2 separate regions of the Homo sapiens genome follow, and region 2 is linked to region 1. The links are contacts of gene promoters, found by promoter capture Hi-C in blood cells and fetal thymus (Javierre and others, 2016). All regions are on one chromosome and are shown on one strand. Each heading gives the region's core, a stretch centred on a gene start or on the middle of the fragment in contact. The rest is flanking DNA. Distances are from core to core; before and after follow the strand shown. Region 1 holds the start of RHOA (ras homolog family member A). Region 2 holds the start of IP6K2 (inositol hexakisphosphate kinase 2).

Region 1 (3,373 bases), core at 583-3,082:
AAACAATGGAATAAGCTAGAAGTCCTGAATTTTAGCTGACTCTGGAGGCCAACTGCTTGGGAGTAAATGGAGAATACCTTAACAGAGCAGACAGTTCTGGTCTGCTCCTGACTAGATAGGTAACCTTGGGAAATTTACTTAAGTCTCTGGGACTCAGTTTGCTCATCTGCAAATGGGGTTGGACAACCAGTCCTGAAAGATTCCTCTTAGATCTAAAACTCAAGAACTACACAGTATTCCTACTCTCTTCTTCCCTCCAACACAGATTTTTATGAGAACAGAGAGGATAAATCTAGCACTAGACTTTAACTCAAACCAAGGTGCACCTTATATATTTAATGTCCCCAAGAGCCATCAGTGCTCCACAAAAGTAGATGGAACCAATTAAGACAAGTTATCCAGAGATCCTTCAATAAGTCATTCTTTACAATTAAAAACTAGTTTTTCAGTCCAATGTCACTTGTGCCAAATGCTCAAAACAGTATCTCCGCCAATCTAGCCACATCTAAGGTGACAATCATCCGCATGGTACACATTACACATCTGGGTGATACTAAGTGGTTGAAAAATTCTCTCCACATACAACATTTTAAATTATGGAAGTTTTTTGGTTTTTCAATTTTTCTCCTTCAGAAAGGCAGAGTGAAATATCTACTTACACACCTGCAAGAAACGTTTAAGACTTTCTTCAAGACAGAACCAAACAAGTCAACAACAGAGGTAAAAATTTAAAATCAGAACTATTAAAAAACACAAGTGGAACCAACTTTGAGGTAAAAAGGATTCCAATTTTCCACCGTAAACTACTAAACAAGGTTTGTGAACAAATCAACTTGGATGCGAATAGCGCTATTCAATGAAGACGACCCGTAACTGTAGATCCAATCAGTAACTAAGGTACAGATATTTAGATCATTCCTAATCAATACAGCGACTTCGACTAAGCAACATTGCATCTATTTTCATGCAACATCGCTTAAATCATTTACAGTTTTGTGTGTTGTTTTTTTTTTCCAAATGGAAAATACCCCTTTTCCACTCAAAACAGACCCCAAAGCTTTCAGACGAGTTCGGGCGCGTTCCAGGTGGTATGGCCGTAGATCATACCCCTAAGCGTTCAATACAATCTTTTACTTACTTACACAGTCTCCAACAAGTCTGCATTAAAAGAAAACCTACCCAAAGTGTAACTGGACTTTAATCAATATGAAACAGTGATTGTCGTTTCTCGTTAAACGTAAAAAGCAAAATGGAGTTGTAAAGAGTTTCTTTCCCATTTCAACTCCGACAGCCACGCGCGCTTTCAGCGGCCGGCTACACTGCGCGGTCGCGGGGCCCGGCCCAAAGCCCCCGCCCTGCCCGGCGCCGCTGGGAGAGGAAGCTCCGGGGACCGAGGGCGGGCAGGCGGGCAGCCTGGGCTCCACCAGGCCCGGCCGGGCGGGGGAAGGGGCACAGGAGACTACCGGGCGCGCTTCCGGGGACTGCGCGGGCGGGGTCGCCGCTTGGGGCGCGGGGCCCGGGCTGGGAGTCAGGTCAAGGGTCAGGGGCCAGGGGCGGCTCGGCCACGAGCAGCCGGTGGGGCGCGGCCGCGGCGGTGCGGCGGCCTGCCGGCCGGAAGAGTACCGGGCTGGCGGGCCTGGGGCCCCGCGGCGCCTGGAGGGAACCCTTCCGCTCACCTCAGGCAACGAATCCGAGTCCAGCCTCTTCGCGCCGGGGACGCCGGTCCGCGAGTCGCAAACTCGGAGACGAAGGCGGGTAGCTGAAGACCAGACCGTGGACTAACGAGAGAACCGACGGAGGACCGCGGGCGGCGGGAGGGTAGCGCGAGAGAGCGAGGGCGGGCGGCGGCGGGAGGGCGGGGAACGACGTGCGCGCCTCCGAGTGCCCAGCGGGCTCGAGCCGGCACAGGTCGCGGCCCCGCGCACGCGCGCGCACTCACAGCTCATCCACTATTGCTCAGGAGCCCGTCCACGCCCTAAAAGCAAAACCCTTAACCAATCATTGCAGCCGCGTGGGGCATCACGGGAACTCCGGGGCTATAAAAGACCTGGTTGCTATTTTGTACTCCCGGAGTCACTCATCCCTTAAGCAAGCAGGGTGGGGTTAGGTGCGCGTGCGCGGTTTTAATACTCCTCCCCGAACTGCCAACTCTTCACGCACGCGAAGTAGGCCCCACCCTGGCTGGGTTTACGCGTGCGCACTAACGGGCCTGGTCCCGGAAGACCACACGCGTGCGTGGTGGGGACTACGGTGACAGTACCCCGGGTGGGGCGAGGGCCAGTCATGGCGGAGTCCTGGTCTGGGCAGGCCTTGCAGGCTCTGCCGGCCACGGTGCTGGGCGCGCTGGGCAGCGAGTTCTTGCGGGAGTGGGAGGCGCAGGACATGCGCGTGACCCTCTTCAAGCTGCTGCTGCTGTGGTTGGTGTTAAGTCTCCTGGGCATCCAGCTGGCGTGGGGGTTCTACGGGAATACAGTGACCGGGTTGTATCACCGTCCAGGTGAGGCTTCCTACGAACCTCCGTGGGCTGGCCGCCCCCGCCCCCACCCTCTCCCGACTGTACCATTGGGTTCCCCACTATCCTGCAAGAGGCTCATCAGAACTTAACATTGGTTCACGGCCTTACTACCCTGAACGCATCTGACCTCGGAAGCTAAGCCAGGTACTTGGATGGGAGAACTTAACGTTGTGCCCTGACTCATGCCACCATACCATTTTACGCCAGAATCCCCACCAGTCCACCCATCACATTGTATCTGTTCCTCAGAACTCTCACCTGGCAATACCATTAGTCCCTTAGGACCCTCACCAGACTTCACCAAACAATACCAGTGGTCTCTAACCTGACCTGGGCTGATGCCTGCTCAGATTCCCACCCCAGCCTTCTGCAGCTCTGGATGTGTTTCTGCCTCCAGGTCTGGGTGGTCAGAATGGATCCACGCCTGATGGCTCCACGCATTTCCCTTCGTGGTGAGTAAATCTGTCCATACCGCAACCCCATGCTTGGCATTCCAAGGACACTCCTGTGCTGGTGACAGAGAGGGGAGTTCTCAGGCTTTAAGCCCACCAGCTTAATGGCCTTTGCAGCAAGCTTCAAGTCTGCACGTAGAGCTCAGGCTTCAAGTTAGGGTGACACCAAGGTCTGGACAGTCCATCATCATGCTGTTCAGCAGCCTGTAGGATAGGTGGTGGTATTGTCATAATTTCAGAGAGATGAAATGACAGGTTTGTTGGATTCCACTCTGCACAATCCCCTCAGTTGGGAAGGCAGTAATCTCTGTCCTGAGCACATTGACCTCATCAGGGTCAGCCTCCTCTTCTGCAAAACATGCGCTCACTAATCAGGGCATTCATTCAGATAATCTCTGGGCCCCTA
Region 2 (3,373 bases), core at 381-2,880, 700 kb before region 1:
ATCTTAAAGGGAGCATATCCCAGAAATTTGTTTAGTTTTGTTTTTTTGAGACAGAGGATCCTGCCACCACACCCAGCTAATTTTTGTATTTTTAGTAGAGACAGGGTTTCACCATGTTGGCCAGACTGGTCTCAAACTCCTGACCTCAAGTGATCTGCCCACCTCGGCCTCCCGAAGCGTTGGTGTTACTGGCGTGAGCCACCACGCTCGGCCCTTTCTTTTTCCTTTTTTTTGTGTGTGTGTGTGTGTGTTTTTTTGAGATGGAGTCTCACTCTGTCGCCCAGGCGGGAGTGCAGTGGTGTGATTTTGGCTCACTGCAATCTCCACCCCCTGGGTTCAAACGATTCTCTTGCTTCAGCCTCCTGAGTAGCTGGGATTCCAGGCACCTGCCACAGAGGCTGGCTAGTTTTTGTATTTTTAGTAGAGACGGGGTTTCACCAGGTTGGCCAGGCTGGTCTTGAACTCCTGACCTCATGATCCAACCGCCTTGGCCTCCCAAAGTGCTGGGATTACATGCATGAGCCACCAAGCCTGGCCCTGGCCCTTTCTTTCTTTAAAAGGTAGGGCAGGCCAGGCGCGGAGGCTGAGGCAGGCTGAGGCAGGAGAATGGCGTGAACCCGGAAGGCGGAGCTTGCAGTGAGCCGAGATCGCACCACTGCACTTCAGCCTGGGCGACAGAGAGAGACTCCGTCTCAAAAAAAAAAAAAAAAAAAAAGTAGGGCAGTGATGGGGATAGGCACAGTGTAGATGAAACAAGATTGGCCAGGAATTAGTAACTACTGAAGCTGGTTATGGATGACAGACCCAAATCAACTGTGCATCATCTCGGCAAATTGACTTCTCCAAATCCTGAAGTGGGCTCTAAACTCAATTTTTGGAGAGAAGGACATTTCCTTGCCACCAGAATATACTGTAAAACACAACTACTTCTTATTACTTTTATTATATGGTACACAAATAGGCAAAAACATAATTTAAAAAAACAAAAACATGCTTTAAAATGTAATAACATGAGAATAATCATCTGCTTACTTTCTAATGTATAAGAGTGTGTTCAATTTGTTACCCAAGATTATCCCACTAGGTGAAATAACTTCACTTAAAGGGAAAATTCTTCCCCAGTGCATCCTCTTTATGAGCCAAACAATGGAAAATTTTCACCTCAGTAAGCTGGCCTCAGGGAGGTTCAGGCTCATCCCTGTTGCCTAGATACCAGTGACATCTCAGGAGCTTACAGAAGGCTCTGGCATCCCTCTTGGAAGGGAGACTGGCAAAGGTTCATCAGTCAGTGGTTGCTCCTTCTTTCCTGGCACATTCCACTGCTCAGACAGATACAGGGCTAGCATACAGTGTACCTGTCTGTCACCTAGGAAGCTTTGAAACACAAAAGAAATCTATTATATCTGTTACACTGATTTCTAGATCTCCCAGGTCCCTGCCTTGCTCCCTCCCTACCCAGGCCCTGCATAAAAAACAAACCAAACAAACAAAAAGCTAGTTTCTACAATTGTATTAACTCTAGTCAGTGTTCTTATCCATTTCATTTCTTTCTCTCTCTCTCTTTTTTTTTTTTTTTTTGTAGAGACAGGGTGTTGCTATGTTGCCCAGGTTGATCTTGAACTGCTGGGCTCAAGTGATTCTCCATTTGATTTCTAACAATGCCTGTGAATTCTAAAGTCACAAAGCAGGTAAATCTATCGAAATGACAATGTCAGACAAGACCACAGAAAATAGAAAAAAAATTTTAAATGACAGTTAACAGTTTAACTTTTTCTCAAAAAAAAAAAAAGTTACTAGGCCATCAATTTGCCTATTATGTCAAATGTGATAAAGTATTCATTTGGCCCTTTCTAACTCTGATAGTGGCTAAAGTTAAAACAACACCCTGAAGCTTCTCTTTAAATACTTAACACCCAAGTTACACGATGCAATTATACAAACCCCACAGCAACAACCTATATAAATAAGCATCTTAGTTCACTTAAAATATTACCTGGCTACAACTGCAAATACAGCAAACATTTTAAACACTAGAATTCAACAAAATTACTGTAATCATGGTCCTCTATTAAAAATATCATAGAACCGATGATCTACAACATTTTTGTTACCACGTTCCAAAGTGCCAGTACTTTTTCTTAAAACTATTCAAGATGATTTTTTGTTCTGTGTACATTCTGCTACGGAAATGTTTAATTCCAAGCAGTGACTAGTTCTGTTTTCCCTGGTATTTAAGAGCACTGGATTTTACTGGTTTCTACATTTTATTTTCACTCACTTTTCTGCTAGTGTAGCTTAGTTGATATATGAGAACGAATACAATCCTAAAATGAAATAAGCCATTAGGATGCAAAAGACAAAAGCGGTCTGTAATCAAACGTAAAGAGTGGAAATATCACTATAAAGGTGTCCTCTTATCCATTTAAAGGCATTTTTTCTATAATAAGGTTAAGTGTGTAGATTCCCTCATCGAACACCATCTGACGGGCCCAAATGGCATTCAACACTCAAAATGGCTGCACATCTGCCGACCCCAGGTAACAGTACCTGAGGCGCTGAGCTGACTCCCTATCCAAAGATCCGGGAAGACCCCTCCACCCGCCAAATATCTGGGGAGATCGTGGCCGCCAATGACCTGGGGAGACCCCTCAATGACACCGTAGATCTTGCGCTTCCCAAGACCCGGGGAGATCTCAATGACCAGGAAAGATCCTGCCCTCCCCCAAACCCGGGAGACCCCCTCCAATGACCGGGGAGGATGCTGGACCCCCAAAACCACGGAAATCCCTCCCCCAATGATCAGAAGAAAAACCCTCCTCCCAAATGACCCAGGGAAATCGAATCCACAGGGACCCCGGGAGATTTCCCCCACAATGACCACGGAAGAAGTCTTTCCCAAATAACCTGGGAGACTCCAATGATCAGAGATCCCGTTTCCCAGTAGCCTGAAAAAATCTCCCTCAAAGCTCCTCGGGCACTAGGGCCATAGGACGCGAGCTTTACCTGCCGCCTCAGCCGGGTTCCTCGGCGTTTCCGTCCTATTGTTTCTCTCGCACCAAAATGGCTGCGGCCAGGCCGAGCCCCGCCCCCTGCACCTCGCTCCCGGTGCCCCTCACTATTGGCTCGTCCTAGGAGCTGCGCACGCGGACTGGACAGCCTGAAAGGCGCTGTTGCTAGGGTGCCAGGATTCGCTGCAGCAGCTTCCGGAAAAGGCGGTGACTGGGGGCGGGGCCAGAGAGGGCGGAGCATTGTCCTCCGTCTGGGAGGGTGGGCCGGAGGTCTGACGGGCGGTTGGGTGGATAGACTAGCTGCGGGCCGATGGACAGCAGGATACCTGGGAAACAGATGGATTGACCAACAGTCTTGGTTTGTT

Evidence for each region. Contacts are between HindIII fragments. The CHiCAGO score rates a contact against its expected background, and 5 or more counts as called.
Region 2: a contact is called between a fragment that was not itself captured here and the fragment with the promoter of RHOA in region 1, in 1 of 17 cell types (fetal thymus). The highest score is 5.2, in fetal thymus.

What each region holds. Positions count from the first base shown.
Region 1 is chr3:49,410,144-49,413,516 of GRCh38, forward strand. RHOA (ras homolog family member A) reads right to left here and starts at 1,833. Exons shown (of 5, transcript NM_001664.4): 1 at 1,677-1,833. It overlaps TCTA (T cell leukemia translocation altered), which reads left to right and starts at 2,280. Exons shown (of 3, transcript NM_022171.3): 1 at 2,280-2,497; 2 at 2,913-2,967. The coding sequence starts at 2,284. RefSeq lists enhancers at 980-1,954, 1,853-2,147, 2,083-2,492 and silencers at 1,273-1,362, 1,373-1,652, 1,713-2,012. The HindIII fragment of the contact is 2,031 bases long and covers 1,056-3,086 here.
Region 2 is chr3:48,714,154-48,717,526 of GRCh38, forward strand. IP6K2 (inositol hexakisphosphate kinase 2) reads right to left here and starts at 3,068. Exons shown (of 6, transcript NM_016291.4): 1 at 3,004-3,068. The HindIII fragment of the contact is 517 bases long and covers 1,373-1,889 here.